2 separate regions of the Homo sapiens genome follow, and region 1 is linked to region 2. Evidence: promoter capture Hi-C in 16 types of primary human blood cells and fetal thymus (Javierre and others, 2016). All regions are on one chromosome and are shown on one strand. The core of a region is centred on a gene start or on the middle of the fragment in contact, and the rest is flanking DNA. Distances in the headings are between cores, read along the strand shown. Region 1 overlaps ADCY5 (adenylate cyclase 5). Region 2 holds the start of ADCY5 (adenylate cyclase 5).

Evidence for each region. The method cuts DNA at HindIII sites, captures the fragments that hold promoters and counts their contacts. A CHiCAGO score of 5 or more calls a contact.
Region 1: a contact is called between a fragment that was not itself captured here and the fragment with the promoter of ADCY5 in region 2, in 1 of 17 cell types (megakaryocytes). The highest score is 5.7, in megakaryocytes.

The regions. Positions count from the first base shown.
Region 1 is chr3:123,326,395-123,330,614 of GRCh38, reverse strand. ADCY5 (adenylate cyclase 5) reads left to right here. Exons shown (of 21, transcript NM_183357.3): 6 at 1,813-1,971; 7 at 2,856-2,997. Among named protein-coding and RNA genes, the nearest start is that of ADCY5, 120 kb to the left of the region's middle. RefSeq lists enhancers at 1-44, 1,266-1,765, 1,766-2,267. The HindIII fragment of the contact is 2,445 bases long and covers 1,230-3,674 here.
Region 2 is chr3:123,447,840-123,452,592 of GRCh38, reverse strand. ADCY5 (adenylate cyclase 5) reads left to right here and starts at 3,503. Exons shown (of 21, transcript NM_183357.3): 1 at 3,503-4,753. The coding sequence starts at 4,048. RefSeq lists an enhancer at 4,442-4,753. The HindIII fragment of the contact is 9,434 bases long and covers 1-4,753 here.

The DNA.
Region 1 (4,220 bases), core at 1,203-3,702, 120 kb after region 2:
GGCAGCCATGTGAGGATCCTGTGCCGTGTGAGGCCCTTGCACTTCCGGGGCCTCATGTTTCCTACAGACACCCAGCCAGGCATCGAACTGCTGGTTCCACTTCTTCCCAGATGTGAAAGGTTGGGCTCATAGGGGTTAGACAACTCCCCAGGGTGCTACTACCAGGCAGGCGGATTCAAATGCAGGTGTTCCGCTTAGAGAGAATCACCCTGCCTGTGAGCCATAGCAAAAAGGCACTTTGGCCAATTCATGGCTATCACTGGCCACAGAAGGAGCCCTGGTCATTGAAAAACATGGGTGGTGCAAGCTTATGTGACAGCCAAGGGAGCAAGTCAGAGACTTTGGGCTTTAGAAATAGCTTGGGCAGGGGCAGAGAAAAAAGGCACAGAGGGCAAGGTCAGAGGCGGGAGTGGCTGCCAGGAAGGCAGCCGGGTCCGTTGGTTTGGCTCAGTTCTACTTGCAGCACTTGCCAAGTGTCCCCAGCAAGCCTGAGCTAGACAATCAGTCTCCCCGGAAGCACAGAGCCTTAAGGGAGAGAGACCAGGACTCCTGGTGCTCAGATACAAGGCACGTCATGTGGACACGGCGAGGTAAGGGAGGCAGACTATTGAAGGAGGGCCCAGGAGGGGACAGTTGATTCCACTGAGAGGATCAAGAGAGTTTGCCTGAAGGAGGTGGCCGTGGAGTTAAGCCAAAAAGACAGAATGAGCCATTGTCAAGCTAAGCAAGTATCCAAAGGCACTGTGGATGGAAAGTATTTCAGTGAAGGTATTCTGCTGCAGTGGAGGTATTTACCAAGTTGATTCAGGACAAGAGAAATGATGGGTGACCTCAGTCTCCCCTGCAGTGGGTGTCAGCCTCTTGCTGATGGCGTGGGATGGGGTCAGGGAGTCTCAGTGGTGGTCCCACCCACTGGGGCAAGTCAGACTGCTGGTCCCCTGGCTAGCTGAGTGCGCCCATGCCCCAGGTGTTAGGGAGGGTCTAGGGCCCTAGAAAGTGCAATCTGAGTTCATCCATTACCCTACTTCCTGGCACCTGCACCCTCTCCTGCAGATGCTGGGCAGGTTCCCATGGGCCTCAGACATGCACCTGGAGATGTATGGCTTCCTTCCCAGTCTGCCTCCACTGCTCGCCCAGCATGAGGAGTTATAAGTGCATACGGAGGGCCTGCCCTGTCTACTGGGAGCTCCCAGATATGGATATGTGGTGCATGTGGCCGGGACCAAGCTTTCCTCTAGGGCATGGAGCACCCTAAGCCCCTGCACCTGCCCAGGCTCCCCTTCCCTCCTGAGCAGGCCATACCCTTGAAACCTGGGTAACCAGCTTTTGCCATCACCCTGCTAACATCTTGGAAGCAGCAGTGTGGATAAATCCAATAAAAAGATAATCCAAAAGCCATTTCTGTCTTACCCACAAGAGCATTATACAAATAGGGTTTGGAGTGGTGGTAACTTCCCTGTTTAATTCAAGTCGGCCCTAACGTGCATTTGCATTTTTCCAATCACAATTTAATTGACAGGGCAGTGCTGGCCAGAGGTGCCCTCCTGGAGGGGAAGCAGCAGGGCTCTAGGTTTTAGTGTGGCACCGCGCCACCTTGTGGCCAGGCCGGGAACAGCCCCTTTCACAGCCGACTGCACCTGCCGCCCGCCCCAGTGCCCTTCAGGCTGAACGTTCTTGGACTCTAGGGCTGGATGGGAGAGAGAAGACTCTTTGACCCCCGCACCTTCACCTTCCCTGCACCTGCAGCCTCACCCCCATTCTGTGTGCCTGGCCTCCAGCCTTCTCCCAGCTTTACTCCTGCTCCATCCCCAGGTTGGTCCGGGAGGTGACAGGGGTGAACGTGAACATGCGTGTGGGAATTCACAGCGGGCGAGTACACTGCGGTGTCCTTGGTCTCAGGAAGTGGCAGTTCGACGTCTGGTCTAACGATGTCACGCTAGCCAACCACATGGAGGCTGGCGGCAAGGCAGGGTGAGTGACAGCTGTGGGTGGCTTGGGGCCCCGACCTGGGTTCCCACTCAAGCCCACCCAGGGTGACCATCCTGCAGAGGCGAGGCGGGGCAGGGTGGGGTGGGCAGGATGGGCAGCAAGCACCTGTGGGGGCGCTGGGGTGAGCACAGTGGAAGTAGAAATTCCTCTACTTGCCAAATCACCTGTGCCACCGTTGGCCAGTTGTGGGAGCATTATGTCACCCTTCCCTGAGCCTTGACCCAGAAGATATTGACCCAAACCATGGTGGCTGGTGAGGTGTGATAGACAGAGTTCTGGAGGAGGGAGGAATCACAGATAGTTTCTGGGATGGCTAGACCATAAAGGAGGCAGGACTGGGAGGGGTGAGGAAGGTGGGGTGGGAAGAGCCTGCTGCTAGGCGGAGGGAACACAGCGAGGCAAGGCACAGGTGTGGGGGACACAGCATTTCCAAGGAATGGGAGAAGAGCCGATGGCCTTTTAGGGACGGCTAGGAGAAACAGCGCCTGTGTTCAGAAGGCATGAGTGCCAGGCTCGTGAATTTGGACTCCGTCCTGTCGCGTGCAGGAGCCATTGCTGGCTTCTGAGCAGGAGTGAGAGGCTTGCAAAGTTTGCAAGACTGGAGGCCATGTTGTCTTGGGCAAGCTAATGTAGTGGTCTGTGCCAGGATGTTCAGTGTGAGACAGTGTGGTTGCAGTGGGCATGAGAGCCCACTTGATAGTAATGGAGGGTACCATGCAAGGTTGAGGTTAGGATTTGAGCAGAGCTTGGGGCCCTAGGGTTTGAATTGTGGTGAACCCACTAATTGCAGTTTGGTTTTTCACGGGGGCTGACATTATGACTTTGAGTTTTCTGCCCTCTCCACCCTGATCCCTGCCCCCCTGTAGACGCATCCACATCACCAAGGCTACACTCAACTACCTGAATGGGGACTACGAGGTGGAGCCAGGCTGTGGGGGCGAGCGCAACGCCTACCTCAAGGAGCACAGTATCGAGACCTTCCTCATCCTGCGCTGCACCCAGAAGCGGGTCTGTGGGCTGGGGGCCGGGGGGCTGAGGGGCTCCCTTCCTCCAGGGAGGAACATTTTCGTGACCTGCTGCTTCCTTCTCTTTCCTTGAGTGAAGTCATGAATTTCTTATGCAGTTGCGGTTCCTGCATCTTAAAAAGGACCCCGGCAGTTAGGCCTTGCAAAAAGGATGGTAAAGAGGGAATCTTTTAATAGTGCTTCTTTTGCAAAAATGCAACAGGCCTCAAATCAGTTAGCAACAAGACATCAGAAGTCCACAAGCTGGAAATCAGCATCAAGGGAGTCTGTGGATACCGTATATTTTATCTCCATCTCTCTCCTTTTCATTTGCCTTTTACTGGGGTGGACACTTGCCCTAATCTCTCTCTCTCTGATCCATAGATCGGTGTCCATCTCCACATGTGCCTATGTCTTTGTTTCTTGAACCTATTTTCCCCTTTCCCTTTCTAGTCTGTTTCTTTTTCCCCCTTTGTCTCAGCCCACACTTGCTGAAATATAAAGCTAAATTATTAGCAGACTTCAGTGTTCTATTTTTAATAGTGTCATGTTCCATGCTCTTAATTTTTAAAGCAAATCAAGAGAACATTTTCTATTTCTCCCTAAACTAAAATGCCTTTTACTTATGAGTCTTTCTGTGGAATTTATCTGCCAGTCAGTGCCCTTTGATAGAGAAAAGCTTCCCCATTTCTCTTCCTAAGAAGTGAAACGAAAGACAAAATTAGTCTGTGAGAAGAGTTCAGAGAGTCTTGGATGACAGCAAAGGTGATTTTTAAAGGGAGGCAGGCAGGGCTGTTGAGGGCAGGTGCCCGTGCCAAGAGGGACATCAGAGGGACACCTTATCCTACCATGCAGTACCCCAGGGGACAGATCCTGGCTCGGGGGCCCTTCATGGGAGCTGTGTCAGACCCTCCACAGGCACCAGGAAGAGGGATGGGGGATTCAGGGCCCTGTGGGGACAGCTCCTCATGGTTTCCTTGACACGTTTGTAAGCGTTGGCCAGTTCCTTGGCCATAGTATCAATGAACTGGGTCCTCCAGGCTCTTTACCCACATCTCTCAGTGCCTGGGTCACAAGGCCTCCCGCAGCTTCCTGCCCTAGACCCTGAGTTCCCTGGCTCTTGGTTCTTTTAGCTGGACAAGCGGTCCAAAAAGGATGAAATGGAGACAGAAAGAGTAACAGGCACCCCCACCAGCAATGTCAGCTGAAGCAGGCTGTGTCCCCACC
Region 2 (4,753 bases), core at 2,254-4,753:
ATTTTTTTCCCACATCAATCATACATGGCTTTTGTTGTAAGACAATTATTTTTAAAAATTGAATAAAATTAAGAGGAATGACTTAGGGATAGCTCTGGGAATGAGAAGATGAGAGGATCAAGGATGGAACCTTGATCAATAGCCTTGATACCTCTGGCCCTGTGGCCCCTGTCCGTGCAGTTGACTATGTCTTGAGGGTGCCACCCATGTCATATCTGCTACATTGCTGCATGGTAGAATACAACGAGCAGACTGCTACAACTATGAGCTTTGGGCAAACTCATATATATATATATATATATATATAAATAATTTTATTTTATTTTTTTTGAGACAGAGTATTGCTGTGTTGCCAGGCTGGAGTGCAGTGGTGCAACCTTGGCTCACTGCAACTTCCACCTTCTGGGTTCAAGCAATTCTCCTGCCTCAGCCTCCCAAGTAGCTGGGACTACAGGCACACACCACCACGCCTAGCTAATTTTTGTATTTTTAGTAGAGACAGGGTTTCACCACGTTGGCCAGGATGGTTTCGATCTCTTGACCTCGTGATCCGCCTGCCTTGGCCTCCCAAAGTGCTAGGATTAGAGTCGTGAGCCACCATGCCCGGCCTTTTTATTTTTTATTTTTTTTTTGAGACAGAGTCTCATTCTGTCAACCAGGCTGGAGTGCAATGGCATGATCTCGGCTCACTGCAACCTCCACCTCCCGGATTCAAGTGATTCTCCTGCCTCAGCCTCCAGAGTAGGATTACAGGCTCACACCGCCACGCCCGGCTAATTTTTGTATTTTTAGTAGAGACGGGTTTCACCATGTTGGCCAGGCTGGTCATGAGCGCCAGACCTCAGATGATCTGCCTGCCTCAGCCTCCCAAAGTGCTGGGGTTACAGGCATGAGCCACCATGCCTGGCTGGACAAACTTTTTGATTCCCTAAGTCTGTTTTCTCATCTTTATAGTGGGGATAACCTTCCTCAGAATAGTTATCTGACAATAAAATGTTTACAGACATACAACAGTTGCTTAGTAAATATTAATTAGTCCATCCTCCCTTTCTTAGACATCCTTCCCTGCTAGACCCAGGTTTGACTTCCAGGCCCTTGTTTGGCCCTCACAGTGGGAAGTGACACCCCCTCTCTCTGAATGCCCGAGGTGCTGTTTGCACTTCTATTGAACCCAGAACTTTGCTCTGACCTAGAGATAGTGGCTAGCTCTTCTCCGTCACTGACTTGTTCGACTTGTTCCCGGTCTAGAGTTTGGTCATCTCTCTATCCTGGTAGCAACTAGCACAATGCTTTGTACATTGAGGGTTCTCTAGAATTTTTATTGACTAAATTCATGTTTTTTTTTACAACTTGGCTAATAGTGGAATACTCAAAGGCTGGATTACCCAAGGGTTAGTTTATTCTGACCTCTTGGAATTTTTCTCCTCCCAATTTGTAACTCTGGCAAGGTTTATCTTCCAGTCTGCAGAGATGACCAGCAGAGAGAGACAAAGAAGGAAGCTCACTTAGACCTCTAGGCTCCCTGTCAGAAGCTCTGGGGAGAGAGTTGGAGGATGAAGAAGGGGAAAGTAAAAGCTGTTTACCCCCAGGCTGGGTAGGAGTGTGGTCTCCCACCTCTCCAGGGTTTAGACTGTCAGAACTCCAGCAGGACAGCTTGGGGGCAAAGGGAATTGGGTAGACACATCATTCTACAGGCCTACGTCCTTTTTGCCTAGCAGTCGAATCCTTCTCTCCATTCCTGCCTCTTGTGGCTGGTGCTGTGTATCTAGCCATTTTCCCCTTCCCCTGCTTCCCCCCAAGTGGGCACGCCAGCTTGCTCAGGTGCCCATCCTTCCTGCTAACACCTTGTTAGGTTAGGGAGGCAGTCTGGCGCTGACGAAGGACCTTTGGGTGCCAAGTTAGTAGACCTGTGTGACCTATAGCAAGTTGAATAAGCTCCCAGAGCCTCAGTTTCTGCATCTATAAGCTGGGAATAGCTACACGGTCTCTGTCCTCTGTCTCATCCTAGGATTACTGACGGGAACCAAGTGAGATTTATGAGACTTTACGAACAGGCAAAGAGCGCTTTATAAAAGCCAGGTGTTTCCAGTGTTCACTGTGGGGCTTTCTCCTGGTAACTACCCACCAAAGCCTCCCTGTCCGCCCCGCCCCGGCTGCATCGGCCTCACCCACTGCATCACCATCTTTTCCATCACTGTCTTCCTGCGTCTCAGAAGTCCTGTTTCTGCATCTCCCCTGTCCATTTCCGGGTCTGGCTCTCCGGCCCCTGAGACCCCTCCAGGGACTCTGTTCTCCTTCTCCTTGAGGCACTCGCTGCCCAGGCGCCCCCCACCCGGTGCGCCCTCCTTTGGCACAGCCGCCGGGCCAGAGAATCGCCCAATAAGAGCGCCGGACTGTAGTCTGACAGCTCCGGAAGCGGCCAATCGAGCCGGGCCAGGGAAGGGGGGCGCAGCGCCGGGGCTGAAGTTGGGTTAAATGGGGGGAGGGGGATTAAAGGGGGATACAAAAGAGGGGAGCTAGGACTGGGGGCGCTGGAGCCCTGGCCGGGGGCGGGGGAAGACCGCGCTCCACCCAGGTCTGGTGACGGGACCGCAGGCTGGATGCGGCTCCTAGTCCCAGGGAGGGAGGGGCGCAGCGAGAATTTTAGGTGAGGAAGGGGAACTGGGGTGCCCGCGGCCAGGCCTGAGGATGCCCGCGGGGCGCCGAGGCTGGGGCCATGGCCAGGCCGGGGGCGGAGGCGGCCTCGCGCGGCTGTGAGCCGAGGCCCGGGCGGCGCGGGGGGCGGGGAGGCAGCGGGAGGAGGGGATGCGGAGGGCTCTCCGGCGGCGGCGAGCGGGCGAGAAGGGAGGAGCGGCGCGAGCGGCCGGAGCGGCGCAGGGCCCGAAGCGTGCATGGCGCGCCCTGAGCCGGGCTCCCGCGGGCCCCCCCGGAGCGCCTCTCGGGCGCCGCGGCTCTCAGGCGGGCCCCTCTGGGCCGGCTGCTTCTGAGCCCCGGCGCTGGATCTCTGGATGCCTTACTCCCCGGGAGAAGCCTGCCTGCGTCGGGGCAGAACCGCGGCAGCGCTGCGCCGGATTCCGTCCTCCGCCTAGTCGTTCCGCGCCGGCCGCGGTGGGCCCGCAGCCGGCGACGAGGAGCTTGGGGCTTGCGAAGCGGGCGCGACAGCTCTCCGGGCCGGCAGGTCCCGGCCGGCCCCGCTCCGTTTGCGGGAAAGGGAGAGGCGAGAGGGGAAGGGCCGCACCGCAGGAGCCGGTCCCTGACCCGGACCCCGCCCCCTGCGCGGACGCGCCGAAGGCTCGGCTCGGCTTTCGCCGGGGCCACGCATCCACTCTCGCCGCGAGAGGTGGGGGATGCGGGCAACGGCCCCCCCGGGCTCCAGGACCCTCCCCCCCGGGGCTCCGGAGCTGTTGCTCCGCCCGTCGCCCCCTCCCCCGTCCTCTCCACCTCCCATCCCACCTCCCCACCCCTCGTAAGAAAATAATGCTGGCTGGCGCCCGCACCTCCCAGTCGCTCCCAGTCCGCTGCGAGGAAAGCGCACCCGCAGTGTCTCTTCGCCGGGACCCCCGCCGAGCCGCCCTCGCCGCCGCCGAGCCCCGAGAGCAGCTGGGCTCCGCTTAGGCGGAATCAGCGAGCGCCGCGCCCGGGCACTGCCGGCCCGAGGAGGCACCGCCCGCAAGGACACCACTCCGTCCCGTCTCGTCCGCAACTCCGGCCCTCGTCGAGCTCGACGCGAGCCAGGATCCCGGACGTCTCTCCGCGTGCGGCGCAGCAGCAGCCAGACCAGTCCCTGCGACCCCACCTCGGAGGCAACTCCATTTCGGACCTGGGACTTCTGACGCGGATCCTCAGCTACTTCTCACCTCGGGGCTGTGCCCTCCTCCTCCGCTCAGGACGGGGGTGCCAAGATGCCCCGCTGCAGCGCAGGGCCCCGGGCCGCCCCCGACGTGTGACCCTAGCCTGGTCCCCCTGCTCGGCCGTCCGCCCTCCCCTTGGAGACCCCCGGCCCGGCTTCCGGGGGAGGAGGAAGGAGACGACGAGGCCGAGGGGGGGATGTCCGGCTCCAAAAGCGTGAGCCCCCCGGGCTACGCGGCGCAGAAGACTGCGGCGCCGGCGCCCCGGGGAGGCCCCGAACACCGCTCTGCGTGGGGCGAGGCCGATTCCCGCGCGAATGGCTACCCCCATGCCCCCGGGGGCTCTGCCCGCGGCTCCACCAAGAAACCCGGGGGGGCGGTGACCCCGCAGCAGCAGCAGCGCCTGGCCAGCCGCTGGCGCAGCGACGACGACGACGATCCTCCGCTGAGCGGTGACGACCCCCTGGCCGGGGGCTTCGGCTTCAGCTTCCGCTCCAAGTCCGCCTGGCAGGAGCGCGGCGGCGACGACTGCGGTCGCGGCAGCCGCCGGCAGCGGCGGGGCGCGGCCAGCGGGGGCAGCACCCGGGCGCCCCCTGCGGGCGGCGGCGGCGGCTCGGCGGCGGCGGCTGCCTCGGCGGGCGGGACGGAGGTGCGCCCTCGCTCGGTGGAGGTGGGTCTGGAGGAGCGGCGGGGCAAGGGGCGCGCGGCCGACGAGCTGGAGGCCGGCGCCGTCGAGGGCGGCGAGGGGTCCGGGGATGGCGGCAGCTCGGCGGACTCGGGCTCGGGCGCGGGGCCCGGCGCGGTGCTGTCCCTGGGCGCCTGCTGCCTGGCGTTGCTGCAGATATTCCGCTCCAAGAAGTTCCCGTCGGACAAACTGGAGCGGCTGTACCAGCGCTACTTCTTCC